Linked DNA regions of Homo sapiens: region 2 is linked to region 1. The links are contacts of gene promoters, found by promoter capture Hi-C in human tissues and cell types (Jung and others, 2019). All regions are on one chromosome and are shown on one strand. The core of a region is centred on a gene start or on the middle of the fragment in contact, and the rest is flanking DNA. Distances in the headings are between cores, read along the strand shown.

Region 1 (7,707 bases), core at 3,788-6,287:
TTATCCAGATGCCCTCTCTCTCCTTCTTTCCACTCTATTTTCTCTTCCTATTGAAGATACAATTCATATTCTTTGAATTAGGGCTCTAACTTTATCTTTCGTATTTATTTTTACTCTGTGATGACTGTATTGAATTGCTCTAACTTGTATATTTCTTTCCCAATATTAATTCAAGTTGATACAATGTATATCTCCAGATATTTTCTATATCCTCTTAAAGATGATCCTTTACTCTGTACTACCTATGATAAGATGCAGCACATGGTCAACTGGCTTAAAAGTAGGTAAAATTAGATACCAAAACTCAAGTGTCCAGATTTGCAGTCATTGGTAACCCTGGTTTAGGTTTATGGGAGGGAGTATGGAAACTACTATCTAATAACAGTTTGGATATTCATAACTAGTCATCCATGCCAACTGTTTTATGATGTTGTGCCATTCATTACCATATAGGGCACTGCTCCTTATTGTGCCTTATCTTTCAAGACACAATTTACTATTCAACAAATATGAAGCAGTGAAATCAGTGTGTGCTCGTGTGTATACATGTATCTTTGCCTTAACATGGGCCTAAACCTAAAGGAAATTCCATAAAGGCTGTAAACAGAAAAAAAAAATTACCCCAATTTTGACCATTATTTTCATGGCTCCCTGAAATAAAATAGAGTCTGTTTGTTCTTAATATTTTTATGATTTCATGATATCCTATAGAATAATTCAATTTCAAAAAGGCAGTGAACAATAGATGTGGATAGAAGGGCCTAAAGGGAAGAAATGGGTTAGAGAGAATCAGTAAAACTAAAAATATAACACCATCAGACTTCCAAAGCAAAGCCAACTATAATGGAGCAGAAGGCATCAGGGGAAATCTCTTATTTCATTCTGGCACTGAGGGCAAAGAAATTTTACTTTTTAATTTCTTGTGGACAAATTGACTTTGTCAACACAGCGTCTTTATTTTTACCACATCATTTAAAATTGTATTTACAGTTTTAAATGAAAAACTTTAGACAAATTAAATTTAGGAGAGTTTATTTGAGGAAAGACTAATTCATGTATTGGGCAGCCCTCAGAACCAGGAGAGGTTCAGAGAGTTCCACCCAACACGGGGAGGCAGTATTAGATAGGAAAAGGAAATGACATACAGAAACAGCTTGATTGGCTACAGCTTAGTATTTGCCTGATATAGACACGCTCTAATTGGTTGGCAGTCTGTGATTGGCCAAAGCTCAGCTGCTGTGATTGGCCGAGGCTCAGCAACTTGTTATAAGAATATGCTCTTAAGTTAGGCTGCAGTTTTTTAATGTGCAGAGGCTGCTTTAGGCCAAATTTAATTTAATTTAGCAAGAGTTCTATTATCAATGCCAATCTGTAGATTCTTATAATTAAATCTGTGTTTGTCCACTACTCCTTTTGTGAATCCAAAAATCTAAAAATCTGTGGAAACTATTTTATTATTTATTATCCTTGGGTGACAGAATAGTACCAGACGTTAATGAATTTGGTGATGAAACCAAATTGACAAAATTATTTAGTTTTTATTCATCCCACTCATGGCAAATATTTATACATTTTGCTGCTCAAACAATGTTTGGATACAGAGGGAAGTTCTAGACTACTTGGACATGGGATATAATATACTATATGGATCCTATTATTTAAATAAAATTCAAAATTTTCTGAAATTAGAAGCCTATCTGGCCCTAACGATTTGCAATTAGTAATTGTGGATCTGAGCTCATTTTCTCCTTTGATTTTATCAAGGAGAAATTCTAAATTATGTGCTACAATCTTGGAAATATTTCTTTAGGACCTTGAAGTTTTTGTGCCTCTATCATGAAGGAAGTAGCTGAGTCCAATTTTAACAAACAAAGGAGAACTCTAGATACAAATTACACAAAGGGACTGAAAATAATTTAAAACATGATGAAATATCAAGGAGAACAATTCAGAACTAAAGAATGTGAAGAGTTTTATGTATTTTATTCTTTATCATAAGTATGTGCTGAATGAATACATGTACACACAATATATATATATACACACACATATACATATAAAATGTACACATGTAAATATTTCATCAGCCTAATGACAGACTTGGAAATCAGAATTGTAGTTGCTAAATGTGTATGTGTATGCCTCATGCCTTATTCTCGCAATAGATCACAGTAGCAGTTCAAAAAATAATGCTTAAATCCAGTGCGGTGTCTCTGATGAAAAAAAAAAAAGATGCTTATTATAGATGTAAATACCCATACACACATAATCTCTACTCATTAGACTATTGGTCATCAAATTTTTTTCCAATGTAATTATAGAAAATTAGTACTTTTCAGTATTTTATCCAATAGAGTGCTGGAGTATTAGTTCCCAATGTATGGTGCCAACTTCCTGAGAGGATAGTTTTTGGGTGGTTATTGTTTACCTGAGTAACTCAGAAGGCATCTGAGTTGTGCACAAAGCAGCCTGTGTTGGGAGTAGAGTGAGTCAGGCACAAATCCTCTGCTTTATGCTGTGCTATGACTCCCAGGAAGTTCCACTTGCCCCCCTTTTTTTTTGAGACGGATTCCCTCATTGTTGCCAGGGCTGGAGTGCAATGGCGCGATCTCGGCTCGCTGCAACCTCTGCCTTCTGGTTTAAACGATTCTCCTGCCTAAGCCTCCTGAGTAGCTGGGATTACAGGTGCCCGCCACCATGCCCAGCTAATTTTTTGTATTTTTAGTAAAGACGGGGTTTCACTATGTTGGCCAGGCTGGTCTCGAAATCCTGACCTTGTGATCCGTCTGCCTCTGACTCCCAAAGTGCGAGGATTACAGGCATGAGCCACCACACCTGGCCTCCGCCTGCCCTCTTTAAGGAGAAATTCTGGGTCATCACTGTTACAAATAGGGCAGGGCATGGGATTTGGACAATCAGCATTTACTGAGGGTCCACCGTGTGCTGAAATCTGAAGACAACACTGGGAGCTGTTACAATGTTACCAGCAGGCAGAAAAGTCTTTTTCTGCAAGAACTCACAATATAAGCAGAGAACAGGGCAACCACACATTAAAAGATTTATCTAAGGTATATTAATAAAAGAGCATTGACAGTGTTATTAATATGCATTATGAATGTCAAATTCAATAACATATTCAGATGAAAACTATCAAGGCCTGGACTTGCTGAAGGCACTCTTTTCACCTTTGCTTTTGGTATGCAGGTAGATATTGCAGAATGTGCTCTTTATAGCGGTTAACAAGATGCTGTAATGGAAAAAGGATTACAGGGCACAGCTAAGTTCCCATCTAAAGTTGGTGCCACAGCAAAGCAATCAATCAACAAAGTGAAGACACCAACCCGCAGAATGGGAAAAAAAATACTCAAACACTACCCATCTGACAAGGGGCTAACAACCAGAATATATAAGGAGCTCAAACAACTGTAGAGGAAAAAATCTAATAATATGATTTAAAAATGATCAAAATATCTGAATAGACATTTCTCAGAACAAGACATACAAATGGCAAACTGGTATGTGAGAAGTGCTCAACATCATCGATCATCAGAGAAAGGCAAATCAAAACTACAAAGAGATATGACTTCACCCCAGTTAAAATGGCTTTTATCCCAAAACAGGCAATAACAAATGCTGGTGAGGATGTGAAGAAAAGGACACCCTCATACACTGCTGGTGGGAATGTAAATTAGTACAGCCACTATGGAGAACAGTTTGGAGGTTCCTCAAAAGAGAAAAATAGGACTGCCATATGATCCAGCAATCCCACTGCTGAGCATATACCCCAAAGAATGGAAATCAGTCTATCGGAGAGGTATCTGCATGCCCATGTATATTGCAGCATGTTTCACAATATCCAAGATTAAGAAACAACCTAAATGTCCATCAACAGACAAGTGGATAAAGAAATGTGGTACAGGTACAGAATAGAATTCAGCCAAAGGAAAGAATGAAATCCTGTCATTTGCAACAATATGGATGGAACTGGAGGTCCTTATGTTAAGTGAAATAAACCAGGCACAGAAAGACAAACTTCATATGTTCCTACTTATTTGTGGGAACTAAAAATGGAAACAATTGAACTCATTGAGATGGAAAGTAAAAGAATGGTTACCAGAAGCTGGGAAGGGTAGTGGGAGAAAAGGGGGAGTGTGGGGATGGTTAATGCATACAAAAAAGAGAGAGAATGTATAAGATCTAGTATTTGATAGCACAACAGAGTGACTATAGTCAATAATAATTTAATTGTACATTTAAAAATAACTAAAAGGGTATAATTGGATTGCTTGTAACACAAAGAATAAATGCTTGAGGTGATGGAAATCCCACTTACCTTGATGTGATCATTACATATTAGATGCCTATATCAAAATATATCATGTACCCCATAAACTCTATGGGGTATATTACTATATTACTATGTAATCACAGCAATTAAAAATTAAAATAAAAATAATAATAGAGTTGGTGCCAGTAAAAAGATGGGAGAATGAATTGTAAATGAAGGATTGGTTCTGGAGCCTCAGGACGCAGAGAGACAGAGCTCCAATACTGCCTCCTGGCAGTTCTTGAAAACATTCTACCCACAATATTGTGGCCATTATTTTAGAGTATGGGAACCCTTTTGTTTCCTAACAAAAAGTCATAAGTTTTACATTTCTTTGCCATGATGTGAAAGGAACTGATGATTTCTTTCTCAGAACTCTGTGGCCCTTGTGAGTGAAACAGAGAGGACAGGCCACGCTTCAACATGAATGCAGCAGCATCCTTTGGAAACAATCTCAAGACCTAACTGAAAACCCATGTTTCTAATTTAAGTATGAGACAGTAATTACTCATACAGCCAGAGAGGATTCCAAGTCCCTGCCTATTTGCCGCACTATCTAAAAACAATCAACTCATCTTTCAAATCTGACCAAACTACAAATGGTATGAGAACTCCATCGTTTAATAAGGATGTTCATTTTGGCACTTAGCAGCTTACGCGTGGCTCACAGATGGCATCTGTCTCGTTTTGCGTAATCCAATCATCCTGCACTACTGCGTCTCACACTTAGTCTCCAGGAGTAATTGAAAAGCTCACGGTGACAATTGTGTCTTCTTCCAGATGTCATCGCTATAAGGAGTGGGGCTTTCATCACCTCCTTGACGTAGGATGTGTACATGGCTCTCCAGGTCAGAGTTGCTCCAAGCAAGGTAAAGAGAAATTACTTCTTTGCATTGCCTTTCAGTTGCTGCCTAGCACTGGTGTAAATGAATATGTTCTATAAATGGCCTCTCTGTCAGTGGGCAACTTGTTTCACTTTTGGCTGGGTACCATACAGAAAACATTCTGCTGCACGGCTTGCATCTTGTGGTAATAGGGCAATATAAAGGCACCCATGCCCAAGAAAGGATTCTAAAACATGTAAATAGTCGCTGTTTAGAAGGCACCATTTTATTCGGAGGTAAGCTCTCTGGTATTAGCACCTGCACGTCTGCTATCGTTTTCTGAAATCATGACAGTTTGTTCTCAATCTTTTTTTCTTTTTTTTTTTTGCAGGGAGTGGCTTTTATTTTTGTAACTTCTAAAGGGTGCGCAAAATTTTAAATGCAAAGTGTTGAAACATTTCAAGCTGTAGGTTTGTTAGTTTCTTTTTCCCCCGAGGCTAGTGTTAATAGTTGTGTTTTACTTCAGTGCAAAAATACCCCTTTAAAAAAAAATCAAACAATCGAAAACAAGGAAATATGCAAAGCCTCAAAGCAGCTGTGTAAATTCATACAGGCTTTAGGCCTATAATGAGCCAGACTTAAGGGAATGATAGTGGAAAATCAGATTTTTACTTAAAAATTAAATTACAATTATGAGTGAGTGCTACATTCATTTTAGTAAAATATCAGCACCGTGTGTATTTCCTCAAGCTTTTTCTTTACACTACCATCATCACCACATATGTCATCAGTGAGAAATGTTGAGCATGACAACAGCTAAGAAAAATTTTCAAGGTCAGTAAAACATTATTTCAGGAAAAATATTTTTAAAAAGCTTATTTTTAAGGGGTTATTAAACTTCGTAATTTATGTATAGATTTGGGATTGAACTAGCAATAATAACTTCTGCTGAAGAGATAAAAATTAGAAGATAAAATCCTTTCTCTTAAGTAGCTTACACAAAGAATGGGGGCTCTATATTTAGTCGGGGCTTACACAGACCAGACAGACAGACACACACACACACACACACACACACACACACACACACACACACGCATTGCAGAGAAAATATCCAGATAGTTGCTGCAGTTCCTCACTATCTTAGAATCATCTGAGCTTCAAGTGTAGAATTAGAGCCTTAGAACATTAGAAGAATAGTGAATATGTTCAAAATAGATAGGTTGTTGACTATCTGAATTCTCATGATACATCCCTATAAGTTATGAGTTAACTTTTCTTTTAAGTGCTTGTTCACTGTCAATATTATCAGCACAAGAATTACTGATATGCTTATAAATTAATAGTAATAGCAAAAGTGACCTTCATCTAGAGATAACTCGAATACTCAACAAACATTTATTGAGTGCATGCAATGTGCCAGGCATTGGGCTAATTAAATCCCCCCTATCTGTACACTTTAAATGACAGAAAAGCTGACTCAAGGGAAAGAGTCATGGCCAAAGGCCATTTAATTAATTTGCTGTCTGGGAAAATAGCACAAGAACTGGGAAGAAAGCCCAAGTATGAGGACTGCTAAACTGTTCAGAATACAATGTATTCTACTCCAGTAGACGGCATGTTTCCTAACTATGTTAAACTAATGTAAACTTTCCTCTGTAAAACAAATGTTGTAAAAATCTCAGAAGCACAACACATTCCTGCATATCCTCAGAGTTGTTCACCTGAACTGGAGAATTTCATTCATTCAGGCAATTTCAGAGGGAACTACTTACCAGTAGGACGGAGCCTTTGCTGTGATTCTACAAGTGAGAGAGTCATATCTCATGATTTCTCCAGGAATTGTCCAAAGAACTACAATGCAGTCTTTCCTATGGGGAGAAGTAAGAGAGAAAGTATTATCTATTGGGAACATACAGTACTTAATGTTAAGAATTGTATACATGTTCAGAATACAAATCCCTTATGAAACTTTACCTGTAGATGAGTAGAACAAAACTCAGAAAGTAACCAGCCAATGTCACACACTTGTCAGTGATGAACTGGGGGAGAAACTCCAGTGGATCTGACTTAGAGTCCACATACTTTATTAATAGACTATGGTTCCGGCCAGGCGTGGTGGCTCATGCCTGTAATCCCAGCACTTTAGGAGGCCAAACCGGACGATCACTTTAGGTCAGGAGTTCGATACCAGCCTGGTAAACATGGTGAAACCCCATCTCTACTAAAAATACAAAAATTAGCTGGGTGTGGTGGTGCACACCTGTAGTCCCAGCTACTCAGGGAGGCTGAGGCAAGAGAATTCCTTGAAGCCGGGAGGCAGAGGTTACAGTGAGCTGAGATTGTGTCACTGTACTCCAGCCTGGGTGACAGAGCAAGACTCTGTTTCAAAAAAAAAAAAGACTATGGTTCCTACTATAGTGGTCTTGTCTTCCATTATTTCTTTCCTTCCTTCCATGATTATTATTCAAAATATATTTATTGAATACCTATGAAAGCCTGACCAATATTTTGGGGGCTGAAGAATTAAATGTGGTCAAATCAGTGTCTGTCTTT
Region 2 (7,707 bases), core at 3,311-5,810, 79 kb before region 1:
ATATACAAATAGTTTCATCATCACGATATTTTTAATAGTGAAAAATGGAAATGATAAATATCGACCAATGAAGGAATAGTTAAATTATGAAACATCTATGATATGGAATGCTTTGCAGAACTTTATAAGTTGTCTACAGATACTGACATGAAACCATCTTCAACACAGATCTGTAAATTTCTAATAAACAGAGTTCTATTTAATCTCTACACTGTGATCCCAATTATGTTAAAAAATCCCCAACTGTATATTTTTACATGGATGTGTGTATTTAAATACGTAGAAAAAAAATCCAGAATACACATCAAACTGTTAATAGCAATTTGGGGAAAGTAAGTTGAATTCTTGTAGAAGGAGGATGTTGAAAGAGGATTTTGTTTTTTCCTCTGGACATGTATTTTAAGTACTGTTTTAAAGCTATGTATTGTTAAATAACGAGTATATATTTATACATTAATTCAAGTTCCAGAGCAATATATATAAACCACAGTCCTAATAAGGTAAAAAATGATAGTCCAGGTGTGTGAAAGAGAACTTTGACTTTTTCATCCATATGATCTGTATTCCTAGATTTTAACAATAAAAATGCATTCATGTATTACTTGTATACATCTAAAAATTAATTCATTAAAAGTATGTAACTCTAATATGTATGACATTTTAAGCATCAAAACAAAAACAAATTGCAGAACAACACCTACACTAAGATCCCCCAAAGAAAAATTTGGTCTGGAAGTTTATACACAAGATACAAGGAAAATTTATTCAGCTACTATTAATACAATTCTCAAAAATTAAAAAATAGTAAAAGGAAAATCATACTTTGTATGAATTCAGAACCTACGGTTCAGCCACATGATGACAGCAGAAAAAATCAGGAGCGTCATACCATCTCCTGCCTTCAATAATCAGTGGGAAATCAGAGCACTGAGGCTTTTACAAGGTGACTCTGCTCCCTGGTCACAGCCGATGGGCACAAAATTGGGCACCTGAGTCAAGCTGAGACAATTACCTCGTGAACGGGAGCGAGGGAGAATCCATTCCTGGATGTACAGGGCGTGAATCTTCCCGTGAGTCCCAGACCTGTGGGCAGCCATCTTCCCTTGCCCTATGGACCCAGGAGCAGAGAAGGCGCTCTCTAGGCAGAGGAACAACCACACATCAAGGGATAGAGAGCGGCTGACATGAGACTTCTGGGGGAAAAAAAGGACTTCCCATTTTCCCAAATCTTTCCATTCCTAGTTCCCACAGTTCCTGGTCCCCAGCTGCGTTTCTCCTAATGGATGGAGGCCTTCTTCAACTTAGTGTAAATTTATCTTCCTTGCTGCTAGTTGCAACCAAAAGGCAAAGTCAGCATTTCCCTGGCTGACCATGAGGTTACATTCCAGTAAATTGGGTCTGTCAGATTTTACGGTCCCTGTGCTATTAAATGGACCATGATAGGACAGTTATAATCTGTGTGTGTCTGGTATTTGACACTGTTTCAAAGTTAAAATTATGGAAATCAGATGTATTTAATAACAAAGAAGTCCTCGTGTAAGGCATTTTCTCTCCCTAAATTCTCTTTCACAAGTTAGGTTGTTTAGGTTGGTTGTGTTCCTACAACATTTCTCAATTACTGTATTTTAGACATAGGAAATGTGTAGTGAGGGCTAATTAGTCTAAAACATCCTTAGTCAATTTTGAATGCTTATAGAGATCACCTGATAAAATCAGTAAAAAAAAAATGGACATAAAGAAATTTAACACCATTTTAGTCATTATTTTTTGAGGGCATGGAGTATGACTTCGCAACTCCAAGTATTAGATTTATTGTGGACAAGACTAAAAAACAAAAATGACTGAAGCAGGAAGTATATGGTTACATTGTAGAGACTATCATGAATCTACCATCTATAAAGCAAATTTTAAAAATAACTGATATGGGAAGAAGTAACAAATGAAGGCAACAAAACTAAATTGATACTCTGAACCAAATTTTGTTTTTAAAACTTATAAATAAAACAACATACAAAAATGATTAAAACAAAGATTAGTGGTTCTCATCTCAGGCTTAATTATTCTTTTGCTATTTTTTACAATTTATTTTACAGAAAGCATTTTTACTTTTATAATCAGAAATTGGTTATAAAAAATTAATGCAAAATTTAAAAAATATGATTTCTAAGGAGATTTCTGCATCCCTTATCAATGGAATTAATGTGTAACTTTCACACAACTACAGACATGTTTTTATTTATGAGTTATGATTTAAATATTGAAAGTTATCTGTTTTATATTCTGTTAGATGTCTTGTTACCATGGGAACATTCAGGTTAATAGTAATGTTACTGGAAAATAATCTGTACTTAATCCATATTTAAGATTCATTTTTAAAGAAGATTGACATAGTATTTCAAATATTTCAGCACACTTTTTGATTCTATAGAATGCAAAGTATTATTATTAAAATTGAGTAATTATTGGTATTTTATTTTCCAAAAGCTGTAGCATACCAAGTGAATGTTTAATACTTAAGTGGTCAGCAGTTTTTTGTATGTTTATATTTGCAGTGTAACTGTGTGTTTCAGAAGAAACCAAATCGTTTCTCTGTATTTAATTCTGATTAAAGTGATTTCAAAAAACAAAGAGAAAAAATCATTTTTCTGAACTATTTAATTCAAATCAATGTGATTTAGAAAAATATCTGAGGGAAAACCATACTGTTTCGGGAGCCAGATGTATTTTGCTGTTGCTGAGTGGAAGGAAAAAAGATTGTACCATGTACTAGATTGACTATGTCCTCTCCAAAATGATGGGGACAACATGCTAAAGCATACAGTAGGTGCTCAGTAAAGGTTGGATAGTGAGCAACCTGAAATACCTGTATGTTGTGGCCATCGTCCCATTCAGTTTCTCATTCCTGTCTCTGTGTTCATTGTCCTTTCTGCCTGGAATACCTTCTTCCTCCCTGTTGCCCCTTCTCCAAGGCACCCCCATCTCTCCAATCCCCAGGCCATGTCCCTTCCCACAGGAAGCTTTCTCCTCCTGGAGTTTTCCTCCTGTAAAAGCTTCTGCTTACTTTTTCCCTGATGCTTAGTTGGTGGGATAATTTTATTTTATTATTATTATTTTTAACTATTAAGTTCAGGGGCACAGATGCAGGATGTGCAGGCTTGTTACATAGATAAAGATGTGTCGTGGGAGTTGGCTGTACAGATTATTTCGTGGTGTGATCATTTTAATACGGGTATTTCGAAGCTTCAAGGGACTGTGGATACAAAGGGGAACCCATTATGAGATTCCTGTCCCATTATGCCCAGAGATGTCTACAGAGCATCTCACATGGGCTCCAAGTACATGACATTTTGATGGGGCTGTTTTGACAGTCATTTTCATACCACGATTTTGAGGCAGCCACTAAGATGCAGCTGTTTTGACTTCAGAGACTTGGAAATGGTCACTTTGGCAAAGCATTTCCCAAGGCAGGGACATTTTGATGAGACATTTGAATACAGCCTTATTCCAGTTTATTCTTTTTCTTTTAACAATTTGTATTGCTAGGTAAGGGGAAAATGAACTCCTTTGCCCTGCTTTTGAGAAAAACTCAACCTATTATTTTTACCTTCACGGATAGAGTGGTAGTCTAAGAGGGAAGGGGCTTAGAGATGAGAGGAGAACTAGGCTGGAGCCTTTGGCAGAAGCACAGTCATGAAATCAGCTTACTACACTCACTCATCTCAGAAAAGGCCATCAGTCATTCCAAGCAATACATCTGCTCATGTCTGAGAGTTCACCTGCATCTTCAGTGAAACACCTCAAGTTTTCTCATCTATGCCTTAAAGACACTGAGAAGGTGACTATTTGGTCCACCTGTATGATCCCTTGGTCTTAAATCTGGACTGCATAGTAAGGCTCAATTAAATTTCTGACATGTCTCTCTCACGTCAACAATATTCTTAAACTATGATTACTATTTTGAAGCTTTTTTTTAAAATAAAGCACTGTTATTTTCTTAGCAGTTAACCCAATTCTATCAAATTATGAGAGATTTTTATTTTCAGTTTATGAAAGTAATACAGACCTATAAACATTTAAACCATGCTCAATGAAGTGAAAAACATAAATCTCTCATAATCATGGTGTACCTAGAAAGCAGAGAAAGGTTCAGGGATGTCATATGCACTGCTTGGGAAAACAAATCAATAACTAACAAAGCAATGCTTACACACTTTTGACAAGGCCATCAAAGCGTCCCCCACACTGAAATAACCTTTAAGCTGTATCAACACACCCAGCATCATGAACAGTTCCCAGAGAGTATCTTCTAGGTTACACTTATTTTCTTGATCCATGCCATCCGTACCCTGATTCCTCCCAACATCTCTCCCTCTTTGTCACTATCCTTGGGCTTCTGAAGTTTCCAGAGAATGTCTCAGGGCCACCATTGTTCCAAATGATAATGGTATCCATTCTGAGATGTGTGGATTTCAGGGCTCCCGACCCCGTCACTCTCAAGGAGCGAGGCTAGATTCAATCTCCGACTCTAGGTCACCTGTTGCCACCTGACAGACCTAAGAAGCACTGTGTGCACCCCACACTCCCCTCTTCACTGATTCTACCTGTCTCATGAAGCCCTTTGGAAAAACAACTCCTTCTGCTTGTGCCTGCTGCTCCCCTCTCCTTAAAGCTCAAGTAGTGCAGACCATTATTAGAGCAGGAGGAAGGCTCTGGGGCATGCTGCCTGGGTTTACATCCTGGCTACAACACTTGGGGATGCATGATCTTAGTGAAATTATGTAAACTCTCTGTGCTTCTGTTTCCTTATCTGCAAAATGGAAATGAGAGTTACAATGCCTACTCCAGGCAACACAGAATCTGTCTCAGTGCACCAAGTGTTGTGACGAGCTGTTGTGAAGAATGAAGTATTAACTAAGAACACACAAAATATTCAGATCAGTGTCCAGATTTGGGCAAACACTTGATAAATGTTAATTGTTATTTAAAAAGAGAAGACAGAAAAAGAAAAACACTAGTGCCCAGAGACAAGACTGCAGGTTGTCTCAGTTCTCACCTACCCCGTTTGTTGTACACTTGTGCACAATACTTTATCTTTGGAGGCTATCTCATACAAACTCTTATATAACCAGACTTCAGGTCATATCCAGGTCTCATGCTCTCTTTCACTCAGCTAGGACCATCCTACTACGTTATTCAGTTTCTTTTTCCTTCTTCCCTGCGAATTGCTGAGGTGATGAATCTCTCTTTCCCACTCATGTTTTCTCAGCACCAGGATGGCAACAGACACACAGATTTTTAATAGGTGGATGAATGAATGAATGGATGGATGATGGCGGTGTTTATATTGAAACCCTGAGTGCTGTCTCAAAATACTTTCATTCAAGATGGCTTGGTTCCTGAATTATATTTAAATGAATTTCATTTTATGAAATTGTACTGAATCTAGAGTAAAATTAAAATAGAACATACAAGAGAATCTTCTTTTAAGTGGGAAATTGGAAGTAAAAATATAAGGAAGATAAAGAATAAAAACACACGTTTTCCACAGAAAGACTGAACACCAAATGAATAACTTTTTCCCTCTTTAGTGTTTTGTTTCAGCATCATTATCCCACCATTTAGAGGATACGATGACTTATGGTCTTAAAATGAAGCAGTATATCATTAAAGCTTTATTTTCATGAAGATATTTTCTTCTAATTAAATTCAATACCATCCGGGGGAAGAATAGCTTATTCAACACAATACATAGAAATGCTTTTCCATGTCATAAAGAGCTCAAATAAAGGGTTCATGTTTTACTGTGAATCAAGGAAAAGCACACTCTGGTTTTACAGGCTTCTTTTGGCCAAGCATTTTCTCTTAAATGAGCAGTTTGGGCTTTATTTTACCAGTGAAGAAGAAGCCTAAAACTGTGATTAATTTACCATGGCTCAGATAAAACAGTATCAGAGAGATGAAATCAGTTTCTACCAAAAAAAAAAAAAATGTGATAGTGACCACAATTTCTTTAACTACTGTCACTGAAGCCTTCCTAAGCAAAAACAAGCAGATAAAGTACAACAAAAACTTATCACAAAAAATCCCCCCCAAAACAAGAACAACAGCAACAACAACAACAACAGCAACAACAAAACAAACCCTGAGATGCATTTAAATGATTGATGGTAAACTTCACCATGTTCCAGGGGGCTCTGCAATTTATTCGGCAAACCTTTAGGAAACCTCTGGAATGTATCAAGCATTGAGCTAAGCCTTGGAAATGTAAAGATGAAGAGAACACACAGGTGTTGCTTGCAAGTGAATCAAAGTCTAATAATTTTGGCAGATTTCTTCTAGCAATGTGCTCCAATAAGAAGCCTAAAGGGAAACACCTGTATGCATATGTACACACAGCTCTGTTTATTCCCTTAGAGACACATATTTGTTGGCTGCTGATTTAGTGAAAAGGAATGTAGTGAGGAAAAGTGCGTAAATAATTCATATATTTTTCTCCAGAAAGCTTTTATCCGGAATTCATATTTGAGAGTGACAAACTTTACCATTAGTGGAGTAGTGGTGTTAACAGTAGCAATAATTGAAACAATAGTTAGCAAGAGTGCAAGAAGTCTTATTGACTAAACTATTCTTAAAAATTTCAAAGCTCTATTTAAAACAAGCTCAGTTTTAAGATGATCAGGACATGGAGAGGAAAGCGTTTATGTAAATACATACAGAGGGAGGATCCAAAGTCAACAAAAGTCACGCCTCGTGCCCACATCTTGGTTGGTTTCTAATACCATTCTCAAATGAAATGAACCAGAACGTGAATAAATAGCTGATTCTAAGACTGGGGCAGGAAATATACAAGATGAGCTTGGAGCATCTTGTAGTGTCAGGAAGTAAAGAAGTGCTTCAAAACCAAAACGATGGGAGTGTGTCAAAGGGAAAGGAGAAGTCAACCTCAAGGAACACCCAATGGCCCAAACTAGAACAATTTGAGCATCAAGATAGATAGTGTAGTAACGGATTGTAATCCAAAGTATAAAATAAATATTCATGAGTTCTTCCAATATAAATAGCTGAATAAATAAACAAATGTGGAAAAGAGACAAATATACGGAATTCTGGGTAACTTATGCTCATAGTTCCTACTTAAGGAAGTGAGTATAGCTCTCTACCTACCTCTTAAGTGTGGGTTTTGCATAGTGACTTCCTTCCAAAGGGTATTACAGGCAAAGTGGGAAAAAGAGTAACTTTCCAATGGAGAAATCTGGAAAACATTACGTTGGCCAGATGATCAAGGTTAACAGAAGATCATGGTTATTAATAGTAACAGGTCATGTTGACAGTATGAATACTTGATGTTCTGTGAAGAGAATGGTACGTTACCTCTGTTGTCTTCCTTCCAAGTAACCAGAACCCCAGTCCAATCATGAGAAAAACATCTCACAATCCCATATTGAGGAACGGTCAACAAAATACCTGACTAATACTCTTCAAAACTGCCAAAGCCTTCAAAAATAAGGAAAATCGGAGAAATTGTCACAGCCAAGAGGAACACAAGAAGACATAATGTCTAAATGTAATATGCCATCCTGGAACAGAAAAAGAACATTAGATTAAAATTAAGCAAATCTGAATAGAGTACAAATTTTAATTAATAATAATGTATCAATGTTTGTTATTTAGTTATGACAAATGAGCCATGGTAATGTTAGATGCTAA

Evidence for each region. The method cuts DNA at HindIII sites, captures the fragments that hold promoters and counts their contacts. A contact is called where the count stands out against the background at its distance.
Region 2: a fragment that was not itself captured here is called in contact with the fragment with the promoter of TMEM244 in region 1 in 2 of the 25 tissues and cell types used here (adrenal gland and hippocampus).

Annotation. Positions count from the first base shown.
Region 1 is chr6:129,858,645-129,866,351 of GRCh38, reverse strand. TMEM244 (transmembrane protein 244) reads left to right here and starts at 5,037. Exons shown (of 5, transcript NM_001010876.2): 1 at 5,037-5,196. The coding sequence starts at 5,164. It overlaps LOC105377999 (a long non-coding RNA gene), which reads right to left. Exons shown (of 8, transcript XR_942986.3): 2 at 6,927-7,022. RefSeq lists a silencer at 2,434-2,728. The HindIII fragment of the contact is 10,214 bases long and covers 1-7,687 here.
Region 2 is chr6:129,937,482-129,945,188 of GRCh38, reverse strand. LOC105377999 (a long non-coding RNA gene) reads right to left here. Exons shown (of 8, transcript XR_942986.3): 6 at 7,465-7,577; 7 at 7,165-7,348. Among named protein-coding and RNA genes, the nearest start is that of L3MBTL3, 77 kb to the left of the region's middle. The HindIII fragment of the contact is 3,052 bases long and covers 3,035-6,086 here.